7 separate regions of the Homo sapiens genome follow, and all the other regions are linked to region 1. Evidence: promoter capture Hi-C in 16 types of primary human blood cells and fetal thymus (Javierre and others, 2016). All regions are on one chromosome and are shown on one strand. The core of a region is centred on a gene start or on the middle of the fragment in contact, and the rest is flanking DNA. Distances in the headings are between cores, read along the strand shown.

The links. The method cuts DNA at HindIII sites, captures the fragments that hold promoters and counts their contacts. A CHiCAGO score of 5 or more calls a contact.
Region 2: a contact is called between a fragment that was not itself captured here and the fragment with the promoter of SNX18 in region 1, in 1 of 17 cell types (monocytes). The highest score is 5.0, in monocytes.
Region 3: a contact is called between a fragment that was not itself captured here and the fragment with the promoter of SNX18 in region 1, in 1 of 17 cell types (neutrophils). The highest score is 5.1, in neutrophils.
Region 4: the fragment with the promoter of MCIDAS here is called in contact with the fragment with the promoter of SNX18 in region 1 in 6 of 17 cell types (naive CD8 T cells, activated CD4 T cells, naive CD4 T cells and 3 more); the score reaches 8.0 in naive CD8 T cells.
Region 5: a fragment that was not itself captured here is called in contact with the fragment with the promoter of SNX18 in region 1 in 1 of 17 cell types (activated CD4 T cells); the score reaches 5.1 in activated CD4 T cells.
Region 6: a fragment that was not itself captured here is called in contact with the fragment with the promoter of SNX18 in region 1 in 15 of 17 cell types (naive CD8 T cells, activated CD4 T cells, total CD8 T cells and 12 more); the score reaches 23.5 in naive CD8 T cells.
Region 7: a contact is called between a fragment that was not itself captured here and the fragment with the promoter of SNX18 in region 1, in 11 of 17 cell types (fetal thymus, naive B cells, neutrophils and 8 more). The highest score is 13.6, in fetal thymus.

What each region holds. Positions count from the first base shown.
Region 1 is chr5:54,515,629-54,519,503 of GRCh38, forward strand. SNX18 (sorting nexin 18) reads left to right here and starts at 2,131. Exons shown (of 2, transcript NM_001102575.2): 1 at 2,131-3,875. The coding sequence starts at 2,325. RefSeq lists silencers at 1,885-2,126, 2,007-2,566 and an enhancer at 3,039-3,875. The HindIII fragment of the contact is 5,643 bases long and covers 970-3,875 here.
Region 2 is chr5:53,561,345-53,565,219 of GRCh38, forward strand. All of the region lies in intron 1 of NDUFS4 (NADH:ubiquinone oxidoreductase subunit S4), which reads left to right. Among named protein-coding and RNA genes, the nearest start is that of NDUFS4, 2.6 kb to the left of the region's middle. The HindIII fragment of the contact is 4,422 bases long and covers 1-3,875 here.
Region 3 is chr5:55,295,447-55,299,321 of GRCh38, forward strand. It overlaps DHX29 (DExH-box helicase 29), which reads right to left. Exons shown (of 27, transcript NM_019030.4): 2 at 3,145-3,218; 3 at 1,839-1,952; 4 at 774-903; 5 at 1-78. Among named protein-coding and RNA genes, the nearest start is that of DHX29, 10 kb to the right of the region's middle. The HindIII fragment of the contact is 9,704 bases long and covers 1-3,875 here.
Region 4 is chr5:55,225,288-55,229,162 of GRCh38, forward strand. MCIDAS (multiciliate differentiation and DNA synthesis associated cell cycle protein) reads right to left here and starts at 2,028. Exons shown (of 7, transcript NM_001190787.3): 1 at 1,732-2,028; 2 at 1,548-1,644; 3 at 1,289-1,380. The coding sequence starts at 1,851. It overlaps LOC124900978 (a long non-coding RNA gene), which reads left to right and starts at 1,331. Exons shown (of 2, transcript XR_007058773.1): 1 at 1,331-2,010; 2 at 2,357-3,875. RefSeq lists silencers at 1,778-1,847, 1,898-2,047, 2,198-2,287. The HindIII fragment of the contact is 6,344 bases long and covers 1-3,875 here.
Region 5 is chr5:55,185,999-55,189,873 of GRCh38, forward strand. No RefSeq gene overlaps it. Among named protein-coding and RNA genes, the nearest start is that of CDC20B, 15 kb to the left of the region's middle. RefSeq lists a silencer at 2,769-2,969. The HindIII fragment of the contact is 2,780 bases long and covers 557-3,336 here.
Region 6 is chr5:55,159,661-55,163,535 of GRCh38, forward strand. The region is part of intron 2 of CDC20B (cell division cycle 20B); the gene reads right to left. It overlaps GPX8 (glutathione peroxidase 8 (putative)), which reads left to right and starts at 511. Exons shown (of 3, transcript NM_001008397.4): 1 at 511-736; 2 at 1,334-1,595. The coding sequence starts at 533. The HindIII fragment of the contact is 1,162 bases long and covers 1,699-2,860 here.
Region 7 is chr5:55,139,167-55,143,041 of GRCh38, forward strand. CDC20B (cell division cycle 20B) reads right to left here. Exons shown (of 12, transcript NM_001170402.1): 5 at 1,148-1,241. Among named protein-coding and RNA genes, the nearest start is that of GPX8, 19 kb to the right of the region's middle. The HindIII fragment of the contact is 3,807 bases long and covers 1-3,715 here.

The sequences.
Region 1 (3,875 bases), core at 881-3,380:
AACTTTACAGAAGCATATGGGTGGTTATAATGATTGTGTAAACTAAACTGTGAATAATATGCTCCATTTTCTAGAGAAATCTTTACAAAATGTGTTACTGTATCTATTTCCCTGAGTGAACAGTTATAGGTTGTTAATACTGGAGCACAATTTTCTACATATCTAAGACCCTCTAGAGGTAGGGGTTTTCCTGCCACTAGTGGCCATAGGGCCAAACATCATGACAGCCTGTCCTCATCCTTCTGGAAGCCTGATGCGCGGCAAGCACAGAGGCCTCCCACTGGACTCCTACAAAGTAAGCACCTGCAGACGCCCATGCCCCAGTGCTACAAACAACCTTGGACACCCAATAATTCCTCAACCACCATTTCTACAGAGTAGCTCAACCAGTCTGTAAAAAATCATCACCTTAAACTCCTGGAATTTTCACACCTGAAATAAGCCCAAAGTTACTGTACTTAACTCTAATCTAAAAAGTAACTACTAAACGAACAGAAGGGGCGAAACTAAATTTATTTATCTTACATATTCTAGGTTAGCTTTTCAGAAGTAAAATGAGTCATATTCTAGAGGTTTAGTTAATGTGGACTTCATGTTTCTGACCACATGAAATGTTGGCATTGAAATTCAATGATCCCTGTTGCTTACTGTGAGAATAGTCAAAACCCAGAATTTTCAGCTAAAAATGTAATTTAGAATATGCTTACTGAATTGAATTAAGGTTTTGCATTAGGATAAACACTGTGGGAGTGATTCTGGTATAGTGGGTTTGTGTTTTTGTGCAAGATGCTTACAATACCACAGCCCTTAGAATAATTGTACACTCTTCTGGCCCGTTTCCCAGGTTTCCTTGAAAAGGGTCAGAGGACAGGCTGAAATTAATGACACATGAATGCAGAACCTCAATTAGAAGTGTCTTCAAAGGAATAATTAGGCTAGACTTAATAAGAGGGGATTAAGAGAAGAAAAAGCTTTGGGCAAATTATACACTGAAGGAAAGGAAGATAGGAAACAAGGCAACGATAGATTGGAGCTGATTATTTCAGGAAGTGATTTTTGTTCTATTTATCTTAAAAATAATATAAATATAGTGAGACATAGAGACAACAGATGGATGGATGGTCACTGACCTCTTACTAGGAGTGGCAATGTGAACATTGGGACGCTTCCTGGTGCATGTACCCTGCAATTGTTAGTTTAGTACCCCTATTCCCTTTGTGAAAGAGGCCAGGGATTTTGCTTCCCCCAAATAACAGTAACAGCAGCAAAAGCAGCAACAAACCCTTCAAATCTGCTTACCCTGCCAGATATTGTTTCACTTTCCTCATCTGTAAAATAGGGATTACTTTATGATGGAATCCCCACAACAACCCCCGGAGGTAGGTACGATATAAGTGCCTTGTTCCAGGTCATACAGCTAGGTAGTGTCAGAACACAGATTGAAATTCAGAAGCCTGGCTCCGAAGTTTGAGCTCTCATTCACCGCACTACATATATCTATGGGAGGATAGGCGACACATGCATGTAATAAATGTGTGAGCATTTATTGTACTGGAAACTCTCCAGCTCCTCCCTCTCTACATGATCCTTTGCTTCTAATTTTGTCAATCACAGCACCTTCCCTGGCCCTTACTTTGTTCTTGCCAATCTCCTCTCCTTGAGCAGAAGAGGGAAGGGAGCCTGCTCTGTAGGTGAACAGCTCCTCCGCAGAGGCATCCTGTTTTCTTAGTGCAATCACTAATTCGCATTGCAAAATGCTTTATTACATGACTGGGTTGCCATTCTAGGAGCATTCACTGAGCGCTCAGAGTGGGAACGTTTATCAGGCATGCAAATGCTAACTTACTTTCTAGAGAATGTTTAACTTAAAAGCCTAAAGAAATCTCAGATAATTCACTTCGGAGTAGAAACCTCCTTCAGCCGCGCTCACTACGGCGCCCGGCTTCGCGGCACCGGCCACTAGAGGGCAGTGGCCGCCGCAAAGCCGACGCGGGCGGTGGGCTCGGCGGCTCGGCCATCGCTTGCTCTCGCCTGGCAAGGGGCTCTCGGCCGTGGATTAGCGCAGCTGGAGACGTGGGAGGCCGCGGGCCCCGCCCCCGACCGGCGGCGGCTGCGGCGGCCCAGCGCGGCAGTCGGCGCTGCGAAGTGGAGGCGCTGCGAGCGGAGCCGCGCGGAGGGCGCGACCGGCTGGTCCGGGCAGCGTGGGTTTGCCGCCTTCGGGGCTCCAGTCCGCGCGCCAGGGCTCGAGCAGTACCGCGGGCCCCTCAGGTGGGCCTCGGCTCGGGACGCCGGGAGTCGGGACCGCCAGTCGGGGCGCCGGGACCATGGCGCTGCGCGCCCGGGCGCTGTACGACTTCAGGTCGGAGAACCCAGGAGAGATCTCGCTGCGAGAGCACGAGGTGCTGAGCCTGTGCAGCGAGCAGGACATCGAGGGCTGGCTCGAGGGGGTCAACAGCCGCGGCGACCGCGGCCTCTTCCCGGCCTCCTATGTGCAGGTGATCCGCGCCCCCGAGCCTGGCCCGGCGGGAGACGGCGGCCCGGGCGCCCCGGCCCGCTACGCCAATGTGCCCCCCGGGGGCTTCGAGCCCCTGCCTGTCGCGCCCCCCGCCTCCTTCAAGCCGCCGCCTGACGCCTTCCAGGCGCTGCTGCAGCCACAGCAGGCGCCGCCTCCGAGCACCTTCCAGCCGCCCGGCGCGGGCTTCCCGTACGGCGGGGGCGCCCTGCAGCCGTCGCCTCAGCAGCTCTACGGCGGCTACCAGGCCAGCCAAGGCAGCGATGATGACTGGGACGACGAGTGGGACGACAGCTCCACGGTGGCGGACGAGCCGGGCGCTCTGGGCAGCGGAGCATACCCGGACCTCGACGGCTCGTCTTCGGCGGGTGTGGGCGCAGCCGGCCGCTACCGCCTGTCCACGCGCTCCGACCTGTCCCTGGGTTCCCGCGGCGGCTCGGTCCCCCCGCAGCACCACCCGTCGGGGCCCAAGAGCTCGGCCACCGTGAGCCGCAACCTCAATCGCTTCTCCACCTTCGTCAAGTCCGGCGGGGAGGCCTTCGTGCTGGGGGAGGCGTCAGGCTTCGTGAAGGACGGGGACAAGCTGTGCGTGGTGCTGGGGCCCTATGGCCCCGAGTGGCAGGAGAACCCCTACCCGTTCCAGTGCACCATCGACGACCCCACCAAGCAGACCAAGTTCAAGGGCATGAAGAGCTACATCTCCTACAAGCTGGTGCCCACGCACACGCAGGTGCCGGTGCATCGGCGCTACAAGCACTTCGACTGGCTGTACGCGCGCCTGGCGGAGAAGTTCCCGGTCATCTCCGTGCCCCACCTGCCCGAGAAGCAGGCCACCGGCCGCTTCGAGGAGGACTTCATCTCTAAGCGCAGGAAGGGCCTGATCTGGTGGATGAACCACATGGCCAGCCACCCAGTGCTGGCGCAGTGCGACGTCTTCCAGCACTTCCTGACGTGCCCCAGCAGCACCGACGAGAAAGCCTGGAAGCAGGGCAAGAGGAAGGCCGAGAAGGACGAGATGGTGGGCGCCAACTTCTTCCTGACCCTTAGCACGCCCCCCGCCGCTGCCCTTGACCTGCAGGAGGTGGAGAGCAAGATCGACGGCTTCAAGTGCTTCACCAAGAAGATGGACGACAGCGCGCTGCAGCTCAACCACACGGCCAACGAGTTCGCGCGCAAGCAGGTGACCGGCTTCAAAAAGGAGTATCAGAAGGTGGGCCAGTCCTTCCGCGGCCTCAGCCAGGCCTTTGAGCTGGACCAGCAGGCCTTCTCGGTGGGCCTGAACCAGGCTATCGCCTTCACCGGAGATGCCTATGACGCCATTGGCGAGCTCTTCGCGGAGCAGCCCAGGCAGGACCTGGATCCC
Region 2 (3,875 bases), core at 602-3,101, 950 kb before region 1:
TTTCTAGGGATTTTGTTAAAGCCTCACAATAATTCAGGGATTGAATTGAGTTGTTGAGGGCTCTTTGCGTCCTTGAGAACCTAAAGTAGTACTTTTCCAAAGTATTGTCAGATTCAGTTGTCAGTTGATTGAGTTGTTACTGTTTTTCCTTGAAGCATTTTTGTGATGATTTTTTTTTTTTTGGCTGTATTAACCTTCCATTTTCTATTTTTCAGAATTTCCTGGAGTTTTTTAAATTATAGTACTAATGCTATACGTACATACACACACATATTAGAACAAAGATTGGAAAGACTGGATGGAGAGATTTGAAGGGGGTAGGAGGTGGATGCAAGTGGTTAAAAGTTGAAAGGAAGGTCTAGTAGAATGCTAATTGATTTAGTGTTAAATATAAATGGAATGCAGAGAATTAGGATGAGTTAATTCGGAAGAATTTTTAAGGATGAGTTTTATTAAGGTTTAAATATAGTGGGTGTTGGGTGGGAAAGAAGAGAGTGTCCCGTAGGGTCCGTGGCTTATGAAAAGGCTTGAAAGCATTAGTTAAACGATTACTAAATACATAGAATAGAGTCACTCAAAAGTAAGGGTGCTAAGATTGGGGAAAGGCAAATGATGTTTGTAATTAAGTGTTCCATATATGGAAAGTATTTTTCCTTTTTCTTTCTCTTTTTTTTTTTGAGATACATTCTCACTCTGACGCCCAGGCTGTAGTGCAATGGCGTGATCTTGGTTCACTGCAACCTCCGCCTCCCGGGTTCAAGCAGTTCTCCTGCCGCAGCCTCCTGACTAGCTGGGATTACAGGCGCGCACCACCACACCTGGCTAATTTTTGTATTTTTAGTAGAGGCGGGGTTTCACCATGTTGGTCAGGCTGGGTTAAGTATTTTTCTAAGGTAAAATACTTCACTGGTTAACTTAGAGTTAATATAGCGGTGACCAAGATTAGCCCTTCCTCCCGTACAGATTATAGGGATTAATTGTCATTCCCAGATAATAATGTACTCATGGTAGCCCCAGAACTGAAAACAAGTTTGAAGGGACCACTGGTTTATGGCTAATCAAAACATGGCTGTAATTTTAAGTCAAAGCCATTTTGTCAGCAATTATAGTAATTGAAGTTGAGATTAGATTTTTGAAACTCTGATGATAATTGTTACTACATATCCAAACTTAAGAGTTTTTGCCTGCAAATGTAAGAGATTTGAAAATAAATCATTTAATCTTGAAAAAAAATCTTAATGCCAGGGAAGACGTTTTTTAAATACAAATTAACACATTTATTTGTTTTCTGTGCCACATTTTTACCCTAAGAGCTTGTCATGTTCATCCTAATTTGAGGGAAATTTATAGACCCTCTCCCTTACATATTGTTTGTTCTTCATCCTTAAGCATTCTTTTTCCATTATGATTTGATAGTAATGAGGATCTGAAAAAGGTGAGTAGAAAGAACCAATTAATGGGAAAATCTACATCTAAAATTCATTTTATTGTAATGCTTAGAAAAACATTTGCAAATCATGTAACATTTCAGATCATTTGAATAGAATATGGGAAGTGGAATCAGTAAGGTAAGGAGTGGAGTAGGGAACTGAAGGAAAGGAAGGGCCGGGCGCGGTGGCTCACACCTGTAATCCCAGCACTTTGGGAGGCCGAGGCGGGCAGATCACAAGGTCAGGAGATCGAGACCATCCTGGCCAACACGGTGAAACCCCGTCTCTACTAAAAATACAAAAAATTAGCCAGGCGTGGCAGCGTGCGCCTGTAGTCCCAGCTACTCAGGAGGCTGAGGCAGGAGGATGGCGTGAACCCGGGAGGCAGAGCTTGCAGTGAGTCAAGATCGCGCCACTGCACTCCAGCCTGGGCAACAGAGCCAGACTGTGTCTCAAAAAAACAAAAAAAAAAAAAAAAAAGAAAAGGAAGGATGCTGTTAGCTGCTACATTAACATATTAATTCAATTATAGTATATCATCAGTGAAAAGCAAAACAAAGAATGCAACAACACATACACACAAGAGAGAAAAAATCTAGTAATGTGGGTGATTGAGCTGATCTAGTTACTTACTGAGCTTGTGCTGTAGTGTTGGTCTCAGTTTCCATGTGCTTCTCATTTCCCTGTACCGAATGTGAGGAGGCAAAAAAAGGGGTTAAATTGTCTACATTTTTTTTTTTTTTGGAGATGTAGTTTCGCTCTTGTCACCCATTCTAGAGTGCAGTGGCACAATCTCAGTTCACTGCAACCTCTGCCTCCCGGGTTCAAGCGATTCTCCCGCCCCAGCCTCCAGAGTAGCTGGGATTACAGGTGCCCACCACCTCGCCCAGCTAATTTTTTTATTTTTAGTAGAGATGGAGTTTCACCGTGTTAGCCAGGCTGGTCTCAAACTCCTACCCACAGGTGATCCACCCGCCCCGGCCTCCCAAAGTGCTGGGATGACAGGCGGGAGCCACCGCGCCCATCCCTAAGTTGTCTACATTTATCCTTACTTTCCCTGACTTTCCTAAGAGATTTTCCAGGGTAAATTTAACTATTCTAAATGCATTTATCAGCCAGATGAAATGGCACTCTATTTCAAAATAGCTATACTTAAGATATTTGATGCAGTGATGTTTTTATTCACTTATTTAAGTGTGTTCATGTATACTTATCTCACCTTAGTATTTACTAGGTCTTGTGTTTTCCTCAAACAAGTCCTTAGGGTGTTAAATCACCCAGAGGGTTTTAATTAATGACTGGTGGGGACTGAGTGTTTGGGACCTGTTTGTGAGGTCTCTTTTATGCCCTGATCTGTGGCTTTATTCTGTTGCTGTGTTTGGTTCTTCAGCATTATATAAGCTAGCATGAAATTGAGTCTTCAATTCGATGGGGAATTGAATTTGAACCCTCCAAATAGTAAGCAGTCCTTAAGGTTGACAAGAATTCTGTTTGTTAACACCTTGCTGGGAAATAGGCTAAGCTCAAATTTAGGACACTTAAGACCAATAGGTTCACTTCTACTTCAGATAAACTAAATAAATTCCTCTCCTAGGGGCAGCTATTTTTGCTATCTTTGTAACACATCCAAGCCAAAGTTTGAGAGCTTGAAAGATTTCTAATATGTTTTCTGATAGGTTTATTTGTTTTGTTTCTTTTCCTCTTTCCAAATGCCCATACTTAGTTTTCATCAGTAGCAGACATCTTCGTTGAATTTTTGTTAGGAAAATAATTATTATATTTTGAGACAGAGTCTCATTCTGTTGCTCAGGCTGGAGTGCAGTGGCGCAATCTTGGCTCATGCAACCTCCACCCTCTGGGCTCAGGTGATCCTCCTGCCTTAGTCTTCACAGGCAGCTGGGACTGTAGGTGTGCTTGCCACCACGCCCAGCTAATTTTTGTATTTTCAGTACAGACGGGGTTTCACACTGGTCTTGAACACCTGACCCCAAGTGATCCGTGTGCCTTGGCCTCCCAAAGTGTTAGGATTACAGGCATGAGCCACCGTATCCAGCCGGAAAATTAAATATTTTAATATGTAATGTCGGCATATAGTAAGCCTTCCCTAGATAAATGGTAATTTTATTATTGGTTTGAATGGCCTGAATGTTTTTCATTTCTTTAATCTTGGTTGTAAGTATTGTGATAGATTGTGTTATTGTTTAAAGTATTCACTACCACTGTCTGCAACAGGATTACATATCCAAAAACCACTGGCCAAATGACTTGCTTTATCCAGTGAAATGTTAGTGGAAATGATATACCATGTCAAACAGGAGCTTTGAGAGCTCTCCTGTGTTTTGTCATATTCCTTTTCCCTCTGATGTGAGGTAGGTGTACTCCAGGTGGGGTCTGCTGTTTTAGCCCACATCTTGGATTGTAGACTACATAGTGCAAAGCAGAAAC
Region 3 (3,875 bases), core at 692-3,191, 780 kb after region 1:
TTTGAGGAGACTGAAATTTAGGCCTACTTTTAGGTTGCTGCTCTTCAAATTCCTGACTGAATCCTTCAGGAAGTGCATCTTAAAATAAAAGAAACTATGCTGAAAATAAACAGGCATATGATACATAAAACACACAAATATTTGTTAAGCATTTGTAAACCTTGCCTAGACTTAGAGCACCTAATTTTCTTCTATTCCCTCATCTCCTAAGAATAGAAATCTTAAGATGAACCTGGTTTTATCCGTCAACCTAGAAGTGAACGTACTCATCAGATGATAGCTAGCCCTCTTGTATTTGGCCATTATTTCACCCTCAATGTTAGGCTCCTAAATTGTCATAAGATCTTAATCCTTCCCACTCTTTGGCTTTCTGTCACAGCATGTGGTAGTATCCTTAGTCACCACAAGCCATTTGCACTCCAGATTCTTGCCAAAGATTACAATCATGATCCTCTGCTTAATAAAATACTATATATTCAAGGACAGTCCTAATTTCTAAATGAAAAGCCAGGAGACATAGCTTACTGAGAGGCAAACCTTGTATTAAGGACATAGCAAAATAACAATCAACAACTGAACACAAAACATAATATTTTCTTGCATAGGCCACAATCTCTAAGGAAAATATCCTGAAAAGAACAGAAGGTAAGAACACTTTAAAAGTAAATAATTATGACAGTGAAAAAATATGAGTATGAGCCAAAAGGTTGATACAAATACCAAAACTACTTCAAAAGGTTTAGAAACTGAAAGAATTTAATGATATTGTTTACCATCTGAAAGGTTTAAACAGAGCCAATCCAAGGCAGAATGAAGGTCACCTCCATATAAGAGTGTATTGGTCATGGCATCTTCAATGTCCTTTGTCTTAAATGAAAATGCTTGTAAAGCCATGTATAAATCCTATGACAAGCAAATATAAAAAAAGTCACATTTGTCAAAGTTCCCTTCCTGTGTTACTAATTATCCCATTCATTTTAAACCAGAAACTTTGACACAAATTATAATTTCAAAACTATCTTTTTTTTCCCAGTTAAAAATGAAATGTGTTTACTGAATTAAGAATTTGGAAACCAGAGATCTTTAAAAAAGAGAACCAGGAGAAATTATCCATATTCTCACTATCCAAAGATACTAAATGTAGTACATTTTTTTCAGTCATTTTTCCATAATTTTGTAAAAAGAGATTTCACTTAACATTATAACATAAGCACCTTCCCAAGTTAGTAGAAACTCTGCACCATCACTTTGAATAGTTACATAATATTCCACTGGGTGGACATATCCTGATTTAATTTTATATTTTTCTATGGCTGAACACTTAGGACATATTTTTTTTTTATTACAAGCTGTGCTTCAGTGAACATCTTTATAGATAAAGATAAAGCATTTTAACATACTTTCTAAAGCATAATCATTATGGTTAGGCAGAGCTGGGTTCAAATCCAGACCCTGTTTACTAGTAACCTTAGGGTATAATTTATGGCATCTTTGCAAGCCTCAATTCTTTCACTTGAAAAAATGGGGCCAAATACATTTACTTCATAGGACTGTTGTGTCAGAGAAAATGTAAACAAAGTGCCCAGCACAGAATCTAACATAGTAGGTGCTCAATAATATAATTCTGGGGATATACCTTAATTTTCATATCACCATTTTAATGTGTGCACTTGTACCTTCTTGATTTAAGGTGTGCACAATTCTTTCTCTATTCTTAGAGATGGAAATGATCTACATAAAATCTCAATGGAAGTTGTAAAGCCATTTTTATCTCACATGAGGAGCTGTCTAAAAATGCTTCACTAAAACTAAGGAACTTTAAAAAGTTTGCAAAATACCTGCAATTTTTTGGCAGTAAGTCTTCCAGAAATCATTCCTTTGTCATTATTTTGCTTTTTATGCTCATTGATCACTCCAATAATTCTTTGCTCTAGTTTGTTATTAATTACCACCTGTTGAGGCCAAAAAGGTCATATCATTTAGAAGCTAAATTATTAAAAAATTAAAAGCCAATCATACAGTTTTCTATATTCCTGCCAACCAAGCCCAAAATTTCAGCTAAAATCAGATACAGTAATTATCATTTTTTGGACTACCACCCATTTGACCACATTCCTATCATTTCTTTAAGAAAAAATGTGATATGAAAAAAGCAACAAGATAACACATGGCAAGAAAAAGCCTCTTGAGGGCAATGTCACGAGACATTGTCCTTGGACCACCCTTGGGTTGCTGTCACAAAGATTCCTAAGTTCTATCCCAAACATACTGAATCAGAATTCTTGGAGGGATTTAATGTAAACCACTGCAAGCACACAACCTAAAAGAATGAACACTATACTAAAAACGGGTATAACAAGTAAAACTGAAAACTAAATATGTCGTAATAAGCTACACAAATTCTTTTGGCTTCTAGACTTTGATTCCTACTTTTTCCTACTAGCCATTTTATTTTCTGTTCTTTTGTTATTTTTGACCTAAGAGTACACAAGCATCTACTTACAAAAATATCTTCCCTTTGTTACTTTTTAACTAAATGCCTACTATAAACTAAGCACAAAAATATAATTCAGAAATTCACAGTCTAGCCCAGAAAATATATATAAAGAGACAAATTATAACCCAGCATGGCAATTCTCAAAAAAGATATATCAAGTAATAGTAGAACCACCAAGAAAATCAACTTGGCGGTTGATAAAGGACTTCATAGAGGTCACAGAGGTGACAAATAAAAAGGGGAAATAAGGGCACTCTACGCAGAGAGTACATGGGTAAAAGCTAGAAGTTGTAAAATCACGGATTTAGAAGAACAAATGAGATATTCATGAGATGTCCCATGAACTAAAATATTAAGTAGAGATCAGAGTAGCAGAGAGGAGGGTGAAACGGTATTCTAAGACAGACCTGAAAAAATGTATATGCCATGCTTAAGAAGTTTAGATCTTAACCAGGCCTTCCTTCATTTCTTACTGTCTCTCAACATATGTGTATGATTTACTTATTTTTAGTAGAGATTAGCTCTTAGAGTACTATTTACAAAAATTTAAAACACCCCATCATTTTCTTACATTTAAGGATACATCTTTTTTGGGGGAAAAAAGGGGGAAACATTTCTTGAAATGACTCAAAACCTTTGTTACTTACTTTCAAAATAGATTTATCCAGATTTGCAGGACCACTAGAATCATTTGTAGAATTAAAACTATAAATTTTTGGACCTGTAAATACAAATAGACAAGGCAATTTAATGATTAATATCTATTACATTATTTTAATTTTCCTCTAAAGAATGCTAAATATTAGGCCGGGCGCGGTGGCTCACGCCTGTAATCCCAGCACTTTGGGAGGCCGAGGCGGGTGGATCATGAGGTCAGGAGATCGAGACCATCCTGGCTAACAAGGTGAAACCCCGTCTCTACTAAAAATACAAAAAATTAGCCGGGCGCGGTGGCGGGCGCCTGTAGTCCCAGCTACTCGGGAGGCTGAGGCAGGAGAATGGCGTGAACCCGGGAAGCGGAGCTTGCAGTGAGCCGAGATTGCGCCACTGCAGTCCGCAGTCCGGCCTGGGCGACAGAGCGAGACTCCGTCTCAAAAAAAAAAAAAAAAAAAAAAAGAATGCTAAATATTAAATATTTGATTTCAGCTTTTTTCCCCAATACTTCACCAAATAACTCAATCTAGTAGCTAGCAATATCCTCTCTAAATTTTCAACATTTTACCAATTAGCATTACTCCATGTTAACCAGTTTCTCATAAAATGCAAATGCCTACATATCTTTTAGGTTAAATCTATCTTTATCCTCATATCTTTTAGTCAGATGCTTTTCTCCTGGCACTTAGCTGAGGCAAAACTTCTAAGATATGATTGTTGGCAG
Region 4 (3,875 bases), core at 778-3,277, 710 kb after region 1:
ACAAATGCAAGAAAAAAATTCTAACAAAGAGCATGATGCCAAATGTAGAATCTGTATACTTAGACAAACATCCAATGAGAGCTGCTTGGGTTTTGTTACTTGCACAATAAACATGCTGGGGTAAGGGAGTGACCTAGGCCTCTGGGTCAGTTGGAAGATACTCAGGCATTATCTTTCCTTATTTGATCATCCAGATCTAAAAAGAACAATTAAATGTCCTCTGCAGTGCAGTGCCCACTCCCAACTCTTGCCTTAACAATCTCTGCTCTCAGCAGCCACCTAAACTGAGTGTCTCTGGGCTCTAGCCCAAGGTTCTAGGAGGCCCTTGGAGGAGGGCTGAGTTTTGCTCCACCAGCACTCCCAGTTCTGGGAGGTGGTCAATTCTTTGTAGAGTTCCATACTGGGCCTGTCTGCAAACCCCAGACCTATTGCCAGCAAGCTGAAACTGGCACTTTTCCTGGGGGTTGCATCTGTTTAAGACCTCCTGTCCCTCTGGGCACTTCATGTCCTACCCATGAGCCAGGCTTCTGGCCTCCCAGACACCAGTGCTGGGAGACTCCCTTCTCTGCCTGGGAAGCGTCAGCACCAGCAAGTGGCGGAAGTGGGATGGGAGCAAGAAGACAGGTTTTGGGGAAAAGAAAAAAGTCAAGTGCCTTTTTGCCCCATCACGGCAAGTGACTAGAGCTTTTCGAAGGGCTGAACAGGACTTTGAAAAAGCGCCCAATTGCTGAAGGACTGTCTCTGCAGAGAAGAACATTTTCTGCAAGATTACTTCCAGAGTCCTTTGTCCTTCCTGCTTCTTCCAACTGCAAATTCTCTTGCTCTTTTCCAGTCCTGATAGAGAAGTTATCCATCAACCTCCACTCTTCTTATATACCCACGGAATGAAAATGGCCAGGAAGGGGGTGTTGGGAGAACTGATAGGAATGCAACAGGTTCCCAGTGCGCAACTTTGCTCCCACCCACCCGCCTGGTCTCTCAGTGCGCAATCTTGTCACAGCTCCAAAGAGTAGATAGGGTGGGAAATAGGAGGGGAGGCCTCCAGATGAGCCCGACTGTATCAAGTTGGTCAAATCAGCTCCAGTGGATATGTGGTCTTCATAACATACTAGGATGCAAGTAGAAGTTCTGATCTGGGAGGCTCAGGTGCCTGCACAATGCTTCCCCTCACCAGCTGAGTGTGCCTGCGCTCCCGACCCGAGAGGAGCTTTTGGGGAATTAAAACCACCACCCCGGAGGAGGGTTTGGGTTGCGTGAAACCACGAGGCTCCACGAGAAGGGGAGGTACCTGCGAGGCGGCCAGGTCACCACCAGGCGGCGCGTCGGACCCGAGTAGCGAAGAGCAGTCAGCGAGGTCCTGCAGGTCTATGGTGGTGAGGGCTGCGCGGGGAGACCGGGAGACACGCGCCGGGCGGGCCCTGAGCCTCTCCGCCAGGCTCGCAGCTAGGACGTCAGAGCCCGGGGGAGAGAAGCTCCTCCGAGCTGTGCGCGCCGCACCCTCCCGGCGCGGGGAACCCGAGGGGTAGCGTGGGTGCCACGGGGCTCACCTGGCAGCGCTGTGGGCTCGGCGTCCGGGGGATCCTCGTACACCGACACCGGGCTCCCGCCTGTGCATCCGGGGAAGAACTTCCGCGGAGGAGCGAACTGGCCGGGCACACAAACGTTGAACGCGGGTCAGCCCTCGGGGCACCGAGCGCGCAGACCCCGCCCGGCCCGAATCAACCGCCCCACCTTCCTCTCCGGCTTCCCCGGCTTGCAGAGCAGCGCCCGGCCCGGCAGTGCCAGCATTCTGTTGGGGCAGATGCTGTCGAAGGCCCGACGGCCGGCCGCGCCGCCCCCGCACGCCTGCATTGTGCCTCCTGCCTCCGGGTGCCGACTGCTCGGAGGCGGCGGCCCGGGCTGGGGCAGCGATCCACACCCTGCACTCCCTTCAGTGCCTGCAGGCTCCGAAGCCAGCCAGAGGTTGGGGCAGGCGCGTGACCGAGAAGGAGCCGAGGGGCTGCCGAGGAGGTGCTGAGAGATGGCGGGGGAGGGGGAGGACCGCCGCGCGGGAGGGGTGGCTTGCGCCTGAGCGCCAGAGGTGGCGCCTTCAGCCCGGGACAATCTGCGCGCGGGCGGAGGCGTTAAACCCAACCTGGCAACCGGGCTTCCCCCGGGAGCCGCCAGCGCGGGGCCCCGGCCCGCCAGCGCCGTTTCGGCGAGCTTTGGCGCCGCCGCCTCCCGGACGCGCCAGGCGAAGAGAGGGAGAAGGAGGGGCGGGCAAACGCCGGTCTCCCTCGCCCTGGGTACCGTCTTCCCGCTTACAGACAGGGGGAATGGCAAAGTTAACGATTATTTCCTTTTCTTCCCACTCCAGCCACAAGGCGCACGAAATAAACGTGGAGTGACACCCGCCAGCGCTAGACTCCGGCCTTTGCGCTCCTGCAGGATTTAGTAAGGATGTAGAATACCGGCAGGGATGCCCTGGAACAGCCCCCTTATTACAGAAGCCCCTTCCCTCAAACCTGAACCTTATCCTGGGTCCTGACTTATGGATTTCCACGTGGTCTCTTTTGGCCTGACGCCAAGAGCCCGCCCCGCTCCCCAAGCCCCGCACTCTTCTCGGCAGTGGCGCGTGAGCACAGCCTTTAAAAGACCGTCCGTTAAGAAAAAGTGACACTACGAACCCTCCTCCACTTTCTGAAAACGCCACAGTGGAAAGTACCGAATCCCCGAAAACCCTGTTCCTGTCTTTCCTAGTGGCCTCAGCGGCCCATCGCCACGTTTGGCTGGTCTCTTCGCAGTCGTAGTTGCCATTCCCAAGCCAACACCTCTCCAAGGAATGGGCATTTTCCTGAGTCCGAGGCATCTCCTAGGGAGGGGCATCCTTAGGCGAGGGACCTTTCTCAGTACCACTCATATTCATCCAATTTGAACAGTCGTCTGAAATTGGAATCTTTGTGTACCCACCCCCCTATGTTGGGCACCTTGTTTTCCCCTTATACCTAGTAGTCGTAGTGAAAGAGCCTCTAGTAAGAAACAAGATACCCTAACAGCGGTGGAAGGTAATCCAATGGTAGAGCTGGAATAGAGTGAGAGACTCTCTGACCCAGGAGTAGATGCAGAAACTGAATTGATGTGAGGTCAGCCAGCTAGAGTTGGTGTGGTATGGCTCATGGTGAGGAGCTCTGGCTTTAGGGTCAGAGTGCCTGAGGACCAGGTCCATGAGCCCTAGGTCTTTAGGAAAAAAAGTTACACTGGCCTCAATAGAGTTGCTGTGAAGATGAGTGAGATTATTTATGTAAAGTGACTGGTGCTTAGTATGGGTAAATTAGTGATTTTTTAAAAGCCTTTTCAGCTGTATTTCCAGCTTCCCACAACTTGTTCCTAGCCCTGTCTCCTGTTTCCTCTGGTTTCTGAGTAGCACGACCACTAGCCAGTCCATCTCCATCTCCATCCCCATCCTCACCCACTTTCCAGCCTTTAAAATGAGTAGGGAAGCTCTTAGCTGAGTTTTGGGGCGATCTCCACACATGCAGATCGTCACAAAATTTCCAGGATAGGCCCATTTTCCAAATATTCGTCAATGAGTTCTAAGTTGGAGTAGACAAAAATATGGGCATTGCACATTATCTGTTGTAACAGGAACTGGAATAGCATGATTATATGACTCCTAGTGTGGATGATTCTGGAACCAGTAACTCATAGCAGTCTTGGCTGATTAATGGAGCAGATATTGGTGAAGACAACTCCGCGCAAAGTCACTCTTTTGCCTGGGGACCAGACCCCAACCCCTTACAACCAAGCAGAGGGCCCTAATAATTTGTTATTTGAAACAGGTGATATGATCTTCCTCCTCCCTTTTCACCATCACAGAGCAGCTTTTACACAAATAG
Region 5 (3,875 bases), core at 697-3,196, 670 kb after region 1:
AGTCTCGCTCTGTCGCCCAGGCTAGAGTGCAGTGGCGCGATCTCGGCTCACTGCAAGCTCCACCTCCCGGATTCACGCCATTCTCCTGCTTCAGCCTCCGGAGTAGCTGGGACTACAGGCGCCCACCACCGCGCCCGGCTAATTTTTTGTATTTTTAGTAGAGAGGGGGTTTCACCGTGTTAGCCAGGATGGTCTCGATCTCCTGACCTTGTGATCTGCCCGCCTCGGCCTCCCAAAATGCTGGGATTACAGGCGTGAGCCACCGCGCCCGGCCAGAGGGCTTCTTCTAACACTGTACTCCATAAGCAGTCTCGACCTGGTGCATAGTGTCTGTGATCCATACCTAATCCAGACCAGTAGGCTTCCCAGGCATCTCAAACTTCTATTCACACTGAACCTTCCTCCCAAATCTTGGCCTCTAATGTCATCCAAGCTGGAGTACAGTGGTGTAATCATAACTAACTGCAGCCTCGACCTCTTAGGCTCAAGCAATTCTCCAGCCTCTACCTCCTAAAGTGCTGGGATTACAGGCTTGAGCCACTGCATCTGGCCATAAAGCTTTCTTAAGAGCACATAGTACAATACCAGACACGTGGTATGTGCTTAGTAATCTATGATTATCATGGGGGCCGCTTCCACTATAATTTGTATGCCCTAGAGCATAACTGCCCAATAGAAGTATAATGCAAGCCACGTAAGTAATCTTTCAAACTTTCTAGTAGCCACAGTAAGAAAATTTAAAATAAATAGGTAAAATTAATTTAAATAATATATTTAATTTAATGTAACATATATGAAATATTATAATTTCCACATATAATCAATATAAAAAATATTGAGATATTTTATGATTTTTTGGCATTAGGTCTTTAAAATCCTTTGTGTGTTCTACATTTATAGCAAATCCCGATTTGTACTAATCTGCATCTCAAGTGCTCAATAGCCACATGTAACTAGTGGCTACCTAAGACAATGTAGCCCTAGAGAGTTCTAGGAGCTCTTCCCCTCCTCTTCCCAAGGTTGTTTAATCTGACCCATGCTGACTTCCTATACCAGTTGTTCATCCATTGGGTACTATTTCAAGCACTAGAATTTATTGTTTAGTCCCATTTTTAATTCAATATAGTGGATAATTTTCTTATAAGATTGGTTAAAAGAACCAATTATCAAAGGAGATTGTTAAACCTCTTGGAGATATATAAAAATTCCATAATTTACATATGATGATCTAAGTATGGTGTTGCAAAACAGAATAAATAGGAAATTATATGTATTTCATTTCTAATCAAATTTTTAATGCCCCATTTCAAAATTTAAAGGCTAGCAGTTTGTCTTCTGCTTTGAACACAACCAGGCAGAAATCAGAGTAAACATGCTCATGACAGTCAAACTTAAACATCGTCATTAACACACCTGATCTTCAGGTACTTGGCCCAACCTTCTCCAATAAAGATGCATTTGCACTAAATTAAAACGAACACTTTCTTTCCTGAAGGTGGCACTGTGAACATGGAAAGTAATTAGCTCTCTTCACATTATCCAGGATTGTGGGCCTATTTTATCAGATTGAAAAAAAAAAAAATGCAAAATAGGCCAAGCACGGTGGCTCACATCTGTAATCCCAGCACTTTGAGAGGCCAAGGCAGGAGGATGTTTTGAAGCCAGGAATCAAGACTAGCCTGGGCAACAGAGTGGGACATCATGTCTACGAAAAATTTAAATAAAAAAATTAGCCAGGAGCAGTGGTACATGCCTGTAGTCCCAGCTACTTGGGAGGCTGAGGTGAGAGGATCACGACCCTGTCTCAAAAAAAAGAAAAAAACAAATTATATACATCTCAGTTATTCTGATGTCCTTGATAATTTAAATTGCTATTTTCCTTTCATTTTGATTCTTCTTCCTTCCTTTTTGAGATCAAATGTATTGTCTATACTAACTGGGCCCATTGACTTTTTGAGTGAGTTTTTATATTAAGATGTTGTTTTCTTTTTTAAAAAAAAAAAACCTAACAGCTAAAATTTATTGAATGCTGTTTTCAACCACAATACTAAGCACTTTAAATACTTTATAGCATTTTTGTACTTCAGTGGCAAAATGAAGGCAGGAACTATTTTAAAAGAGTAGTTAATTCCCACAACTCCAACTGACATGATTTTGCTAGGAAAATTTAGAGTTTATAAACTTGTTTCTCTGCTTTTCTTCTGGGACAGCATATAGGGAGACAAGATATGATGTTTGTCTTTATTAACTAGAGACTTGACTAAGAGCTTTTATTTTGTTACCTGCTACAAAAAAAAAGAAGAAGAAGAAGAAGAAAAAGAAGAAAAGGAAAAGAAAGGAAGAAATGAAGATCTAATTGGGACATTTTCTGTTTTTTTGTTAACAAACACATACCACCAACCCTCACCAGAATCAGATCTAGTTTAGGAAGGCACAAGCCAACTAAAATATTTTGTCATCAACTGTGGGAAGTTTTGACTCAAACAACCTAAAAGTTTGCAGTGACCTTACTGCTCAATAGGCTAAAATCTTAAACATCCCTCAAAGGTTGAGCCCACATAATTTGAATACATGAATTTGGTGTGTGCCAAAAGTGTGCTATCATTCTCAACTTTCCTATAGAGATTCTACAACTTTATCGCCTAAATGTTGAGTAAAAAGCAAAACAAAACAAAATAGAAACTTGAATCGCATCACTATTATGGAAAACTTACCCATCAGCTGCACCGCCAAATTCTCAGCTCATCATATTTAAATGAAACACTTCCAACTGTGCTTACCCAGTAAGCAAACATACCTGTGTAAATACAGAAGCATTTAGCTAACATTTCATACAGTTCAACTTAGCCAGTGGGACATAATTTCAACACAATTATGTTTACATTTTAGTAATAGGATACACAAGGACCTGATTTACTAGAGTAAGACAGTGAGGAAAAGCCCTTAAATTCTTCTTTATAAGAAGAAGAAACAAACAGTAGCATACTAGTAAAATGGATAGAATCACATGGCTGGTAATCCCTTTAGAAGTTTACAAAAATGAGCATAGTGACTATAGGCAGGACTAAACTATCCCGGTCTGCTCTCTCCTCTTTTGAAATGTCGTGATTATAATCAACTTTAGTTCAGAAAACATTTTTTCTTTAAACAGCACACACGACTGGGGAAATAGATCAATTAGATAACTTCCTCTGGGAGCTCTCAGGCTAGATGGGAAGAGGAGACATACACAATAATGACCCTAACACTGACACACTGTGAGAGTGATATCATGAAAACACAAGGTCCTATAGGATATTCTTTCTATGTAAATAAACATAAATGTAGCCATTCTTAAGCTTTCTCTTCTTAAGGTTAAATAATTTCAATTCCTATTTCCCAATGCTTTGTTTACTGTACACCTCTGAATCCTCAGGTTTCAATATTTATCTTAGATTATAGAACTCAAAACTGTACCACCATTATAAATGCCCAAAGGCTGAATTTGGGAAGAAATGCTTTACTTCCTTTAGTTTCCTCGCATTTTCTTCACTTTTGAAATAATTGTAGGGAAAGTTAATGATCCAGTGCATATTTGTTAAATATCCAACCACGAGGTATTGGTTGAATAAATTACTCCACGTCTATATAATGAAATCAAGTCATTAAAATATTTCAGAAATAAAAATCATAAAAGAATCATAAATACTATTAGAAGAAAAAGGAGGCACATATCAGGTTATAATTCTTATTTTAAGTATATATTTGTCTGTATATATACGCAAAGGAGCCTGGATGTTCCCATTAAGTGGGAGAAATATGGGTGTTTTATGTACACTTTTGCTTGCAGTTATTCATTTTGTAGCAAGAAAAAAAATAAGATGTTTCACTTGTAA
Region 6 (3,875 bases), core at 1,030-3,529, 640 kb after region 1:
AGATATTTCCCTGCTCTTTCCACTATAAATTTCCTGAACTCATATAGCATGTTTAACCCATACATGTAATAGTAACGTCCTTCAGGGTATACACCATATGAGTAGGTCACATTTAATCTACATTCTAAACTATTGCTGAGCATCGTACTCCATCCTCTGCATCCAAACAGTTGCTCAATAAATACACAGCTTAGCATGGGGAATGAGCCCTCCGTAGCTTTCGAGTTACAAGAGCACCATCTTCTGGCGAAATATTTTCTTTGTAGGGAGAATGTCAAAGACCTACCAAAAATGTCCTGATTTTTCTAGCAAAAATTATAATTACATCACAAATACTTTGAAATTCTGTAGAGCTCCTTGCTTCATTCAGGAGTTTCGCTTCATTTCCCCTCTGAGAAGTGGTCTTTCTGTTCCTTAGCAGTGAAAGCAGTCAGCCTGTCCTTCCTGGTTTTCCGTTAAACTAAGCCGGTTTCAAGTTTCAGCTCCTCCTTGAATTCCAGGCTGCTGAGACTTCCCTCTAGAATCCTCCAACATGGAGCCTCTTGCAGCTTACCCGCTAAAATGTTCCGGGCCCAGAGCAAAGGTATTTGCAGTTTTGCTGTCTATAGTTCTATGCACAGTAACGCTATTTCTTCTACAACTAAAATTCCTCAAACCTAAAATCAACAGCTTTTATGCCTTTGAAGTGAAGGATGCAAAAGGAAGAACTGTTTCTCTGGAAAAGTATAAAGGCAAAGTAAGTTGCATCATCTGATTTTTATTGTTATCATTTTTCCTTGTCTCTGTTTATTCCTCTTAATAAAATCAATTTTTTGCTGTTACATGGTCATAAGTTGGAATTTAGTCTTCAGAGTAATGGTATTAGTACATCACTTTAGTTATTACAGTTCTGATAGTTTGCTTCTAAATAATAAATTCCGATTATCTCGTTTTCTTTAAAATGCTTTAATTTTGTGCTGAATTGACATGTAAAGTTGTTTGGAAAATACTTATAGTTAGTAATGTGAACATGATGACATTTATTAATAAAAGTATTGGTTCTATAATCTAATAACTTTAAAAAGAACTTATCAAGGATCATAGTTTTATCTTTAATTTAAAAATAAACTTTCATGAGTATCTAATGCTTTTTTAATGGCAGTACTATTTCAGGGCCTTAACCCAGGCATCTAGGTTACAGTTTTCAATAGAACTGTGTATGTCCAAAAATATGAAAAAAACATCAATCAGAGGTTATAGTCCCCCCCAAATTGTTTAGGATTTTAACTACTTGCAGAATTTTTTAAAATCTTTTGCTTCACTTTCCGGTTGGATTTTTTTCTTTTTCCGGGAGGTTTCACTAGTTGTAAACGTGGCCAGTGACTGCCAACTCACAGACAGAAATTACTTAGGGCTGAAGGAACTGCACAAAGAGTTTGGACCATCCCACTTCAGCGTGTTGGCTTTTCCCTGCAATCAGTTTGGAGAATCGGAGCCCCGCCCAAGCAAGGAAGTAGAATCTTTTGCAAGAAAAAACTACGGAGTAACTTTCCCCATCTTCCACAAGATTAAGATTCTAGGATCTGAAGGAGAACCTGCATTTAGATTTCTTGTTGGTAAATATCTGCCTTGCATATGCTGTTTTAAATTGCTTTTCATTTTTAAACAATTATACCAGGACAATACTTTCCTATTTCATTTGAAACGTTGTATCGGGAAAGCTTCATAAAACTATCATCAAAGAGCCAGAATCTCATCCTTTGTAACTTCTAGGAGTTATGCTCCCCTGAAATCAATGTTTTAGCTTCTTAGATGGTAAAAGAATTCTATTCCAATATATTTTATTCCTTATTACCATCTTCCTGAAGAATTTACTTAAAGTGTGCCCATGGCTATTTTCACAAAATATCTTAATTCTCCTCTCTTGTAACTAGCATCTGGAGAAATGTCCCTTCCCGTCATTATAGCCACACAGCTCTCATGAATAGTGCTGGGCATTATTAGTTAACATATGTTTGTGGCTAATTTTATGTTGTCTTTCTTATCTGAAACAATATTCTCAAAGATGAATATGTCAGCTTACCAGATTTTTGCTAAAATCCAAAAACATATAACTTGGTTTTTTCAGAGGGCAGTAGTGTTAGGCTATTTCTCCAATTAAGCTAGCTACAGAAATCTGTTTAAAGACTTGCCAAGGTCACTTAGCACAAAGGTCATGAGGCATACAGACAGCATAGGCTTTGGCCTCAAGCTACCTGGGTTCAAACCCCTGCTCTTTTGTTTTTGCTATGTGGCTTCTTAACTTCTCTGTGCCTGTTTCTCATTTGTAAAATGGGCTATCAATAGTACCGCCTTCTTAAGATTGTTTGGAATTAAGTCTGTTAATAGTAAAAATAAAGTACTTATACACTGCTTGCTCTGTGCCAGACACTGTTCTAAACCATATTAGTCAAAAAAAAAAAAAAAAAAAAAAAGGCCGGGCGCGGTGGCTCACGCCTGTAATCCCAGCACTTTAGGAGGCCGAGGCAGGCAGATCACTTAAGGTCAGGAGTTAGAGACTAGCCTGGCCAATATGGTGAAACCCCATCTCTATTAATAGTACAAAAATTAGCCAGGTGTGGTGGTGGGCACCTGTAATCCCAGCTATTCAGGAGGCTGAGGCAGGAGAATCGCTTGAACCCAGAGGCAGAGGTTGCAGTGAGCTGAAATCGCGCTACTGCACTCCAGCCTGGGCGACAGAGCAAGCCTGCATCTTAAATAAATAAATAAAGGACATTAGCTAATGTTCTCTCATCTAACTTATTCTGATGACATCTTCAGTCCTATTTTCACTGTAAATAAGTTGAGTTTTGATCAAACTATTACCTCACTCAGGCAATCAAGCTTCTAATCCAACAAACCAAATAGTGATCTATAATATTTCACATAAATGTGAAGTCAGAATCTTCTAAAAACATTATATTTAATTTCTAGGGAAAGTTGATATAATGCCTAACGCCATAAATGGCAACCACAGTGAGGTCTTTATTCCTCTTATTTTGAAGGTCCACTGAGGAAAGAAAAGCCCAAGCACATGCCATTGAACTAATCATTCTTCAGTTACAGCAGCCAGATACGTGGGTGCAATAGCTCATAGGTTATTTCTCTTTATCACTACAAACCTTCTAAAACCCTTCTTAGCCTGTGTAATCAAAAAGGTAACAGTGAGTTAAGGTGTCATTCCACTTAGATAGGAAGGATCATAGAGCCCAAAGGTTAAGAGCATGAGCTCTGGAGTAAAAGGCCCGTATATCAATCCTGGCTCAACCACTCATTAGCCACGTGACCTTGTGTCTAGGCTTCCATTTATCTCATCTGCAAAACGGGGATGATAATAATACCCACCTCATAGGGTCCCTGTAAGATTAAAAGAGAGGATCAATTTGAAGCACGGAGCGTACATTAATCTGGCACATAGTAAGCACTTCATAAATTTTAGTTATAATTATTATATTTTTCCTCATGTTAGTCAATAAAATGAACATAAATCTTGAGTGGTATAAATAGAAAAAAAATCTACATTTCTTACATAAATTAAGATTTATCAAAAGGATATCATGGCTGGGCATGGTAGCTCATGCATGTAATCCCAGCACTTTGGGAGGCCAAGACAGGAGGATCACTTTAGTGCCCAGGAGTTCAAGCCCATCCCGGGCAACACAGCGAGACCCTGCCAAAAAAAAAGTTATTGCTTTTCAAAATAAGGTGATTATTCACTTTGGGAGGCCAAAACCCTATCTCTACTCAAAATACAAAAATTTGCCTGGTGTGGTGGCACACACCTGTAATCCCAGCAATTTGGGATTACAACTTTGCTTCATTTTTTTTGGCTTTTAATTTTATTTGACACAGAGTTT
Region 7 (3,875 bases), core at 562-3,061, 620 kb after region 1:
ACATGACTTCTCAACAGCAACAGTGGATACTAGAAAACCATAAAGCAATATTGTCAAAATTCTGAGTGAGACTAGAATTTATAGCCAGCCAAACTATGAATCAAGCATAAAAGAAAAATAAGGACATCTTCAGACCAGCAAACCCAGAAAGAGCACAACATAGCTGCCCAAAAATAGTGGATATAATATTGATGAAAAGTCCCAGAAGACAACTGTGCAACTGGCCAAGAAAGCAGCCTGTTCAGCAGGCTCTGAAAGGGAGGACATCAAGGAAAAGAAGAAACTGGAGTGAGTGAGTGCATGGAAAATGTTATTGACAGCTACGGAATAAAACATTGGAGCATTTAGAGGAAATATTAATGGTGTCATAGTTATCTAGTAAATGAAAACTAAGGCAACTTTTAATACTCAGCTAAACAATTATACTAGAAAAGAAGCATAATTATATTATTTGGCTTGATAGTGAATAATAGTTGTGTAGTAATATGATGTAAACATTAACTACTAATTTTACTTTTTTAAAGTGTGATATAAGCATGTCGAGAAACTGATGAAACTGAATGAGGCAGGAAGAGAACTAAATTCTTATCTACTATGCCTGTAATCCCAGCACTTTGGGAGGCTGAGGCAGGAGGGTCACTTGCGGCCAGGAGTTCGAGACCAGCCATGGCCAACATGGTGAAACCCAACTCTACTAAAAATACAAAAAAATTAACCAGGCATGGTGGTGCATGCCTATAATCCCAGCTACTCAGGGAGCTGAGGCATGAGAGTCCTTTGAACCCGGGAGGCAAAGGTTGCAGTGAGCCAAGATCGCACCACTGCACTCCAGCCTGAGCAACACCAAAAACAAAAAAGTCATGATTAAGTCTAAAATCACAAGAAATAGTAGTTTACCAATATTATTTAGAAAATAGATGTAAATACCAGGAGGACAGCTGGAAGAACTAAAGGTGGTCACCTATAGAGAATGGGACTTGGAGGTAGGGGTAGTTAGAACAGAGGATTATGAGAATTATTCATATTTTACAATTAGGTTGATTTAGTCTAGTAAATATTAAAAATAATATATTTTAAGATTAGGAAGAAATGAAGGAGGCAGAGAGAGAGGAGCGCAGGAAAGAAGGACAATGTCTTGATCCTGTACCTTTCCAAACACATTCGGATTGCTCACAGAGCTGCATTTTTCCATTAGCCTGCTGAACCACGTTCTGGGTTACAAAGAGTTGTTTTAGGCATTTCTGAAAATAAACACACATAAGGAGAATATTTCTTTAAAAACATACATGTACAACTAAAATGTAATGTATAATATAGAATTACAACTGGTAATTCACTAAGGAGTTCAAAGATTCCACATTGTCAAAGCCAACACCACAATAATCGCTATTATTTATTAACTAAACAATATATTATGAACAGTGCTGAGCATTTTACATATATTATTTCTCAACTATGGAGTTCAACAACTCCATAGAGCAGGTATTTTTTGGCTAGAATAAAATCTTTTTTTACTCTTCTAGCCTAAAAATCTGTTTAGCCTATACACCATAGGCCAGTGATATCAGCAAAGCCTGCCACAGCTGAATGGCCATCTTAAGGTCCTTTTTTGTTAACACCTTCACAGAGCTCTTAAGTAACTTTACTAAAATTCCATGTGCACAAAAATCTGGGTCCCATCCCTTTGGGCCAATATATAAAGAGCCCTTCTGACACTCTTACATCCAACTTCAATCAAAAACACCTGGGAAAATTAGTAATAAGTGGAAAGAAAAATAACTGTTGGAATTTCCTAAAAACATAGTGATAAATGATTAAAGCAGAGAAGATTCTGTTTTGCTTCTTCACAATAAAATATTTGCTCTCCCAAATATGACAAACACTGTGTCAGGTTCAGAACTACGCCAAAGGTCATGTTGAGGTCTGGAGGGAGTGGGTGGATGAGCAGAAAGAACACTTTGGGGGGCCGTAGGCAGGTGAATGATTTTATTCAGCAGCAGCTCTCATCAACAGCTTTCTTACACTAGCTCTCTACACTGTTCACCTTTATCTTGGCTGCTTAATTGATGACCCACACACACAGCTGCAAGACTGGCTCTCCCTTGCCTTCAGGGTCAGCAGCTTAACACTTTCTTTCTCTGGGCACGAGCAAGCCAAGCTGTGTCCTGGCTCCCCTCATCCATCTGCAAAGACAGCTCTGGCTTTCTCTTTCTCCAGGTGCCAGCTTCTGCACAGTGTCAACAGGGCAATTATACCTTTTACGGACAATAGTGGCTTAGAGCCAAGTGATGGCCTTCCCGGTGTTATAACTATAGTGGTGAGCTTCTCTATGTTGTGTCTACATGGCTATGATGACAAGTGGAGTTATACGCCTGTGCTCTATACTCACTGAGTCACGAAGAATGTAAACATCCTACCTCGGCCTATCCTTGACCAAAGCACAGCCATGTTCCTTACACTCTGGGTCCCCACGGTTCAGACAGAAGTCTCTCTGACAGACAACATTTTGGTATTTTGTTTTTCTTCCTTGATGTTATGTCACATAATTGGCATTGCTGTCAATGAATCGTGGTTTTTAGTTATTCAAGGTAGAACAACTAACTAGAAAGCAGGGTTTCCCAATCTTGGCACTATGGGCAACAATTCATTGTTGTGGGAGCTGTTCTGTGCATTGTAGGATGTTTAGCAGTAACCCAGGCCTTCACCCACAAGATGCTCTCCCCCTGAGTTGTAACAATGAAATGTCTTTAGATATTGCCAAATGCCCCTTGGTGAGTAAAATCACCCTGAGTTGAGAACCGTTAGTATAAAATAATATTCCTAAAATGGCCTGCTCATCAGTAGTTCAATGAACTCTTCACAGACTCACTTCTTTAGAATCCCACAGTTACCACAAAGCTGATCACAGCAAGGTTTAGCAGGCGCTTCTGTTCTGTGGGTGCAGGGGTGCTCTTTCCTAGATGAGATCGACTTACTACTTTAATCAGCAACTTAATATGGAGCTCCTGGAAGATGAATTCTGAAAGTCTCCACGGCTATGCAGGCCCTCGTTGTGGAAACACCCTCCAGATGATCAGTGAGGACCACATGAAGACACACGTTTACTCTACAGGGGAAAGACCTCGCTTTGAGTCTTCACCACTCTCGATGCTATTTGACTTCTAACTAATCATGACAAAAAATGCTCTCCTTAACACCATAGAACAGCTTCCATTATCCCCTGCCCAGGTTCTTCAGTGATGCTGGGATGATGTTCCAGCTGGTATAACAATTGCTAAGGAGTATCTTGCCAACACCATCATGAGCCCACAGATGGAGCCACTAACCTTGCTGCCACCAGTTACCAGAAAGGATAAGAGGAAGGAAAAGGAAGTCTTAAGGGGTAGGGCAGCAAAAACTCCAATCAGCAGTAGAGGGTGGAAAACACAGGAGTGTCAATAATCTGGCCCATGTTTGAGGCCACCAGTGCACCCTAATTATCTCAGTAGGACTCCCCGGCCATTCCCTATCCCCCAAACCCATATCCAACAATAAAGCACACATCAAAATACCTGCTCTAAAACATTCACTTCCAATTGCATATGAGTTCAGATAACTAAAATTTATATGAACAATATTTTATTATTCTTCTAGCAAAATAGCCAAGCACAGAAAAAGGCATACACTGAATAAGTAATTTTGCCTAAATTGAGAATTTATGACTTTTCTAGTTCAAAGCTTTCGAACTGAAATATGGATTCCTTCAAAGACTCTTCATTGGATTTGATAAATTCAAAAACATGCTGTTGATATTTAATGTGCCCAAAAGATTTACGTCAGACTCCTAAGATCTTAAAACTATAATAAATAAAAGATACCTAAATGTAATAAATGTA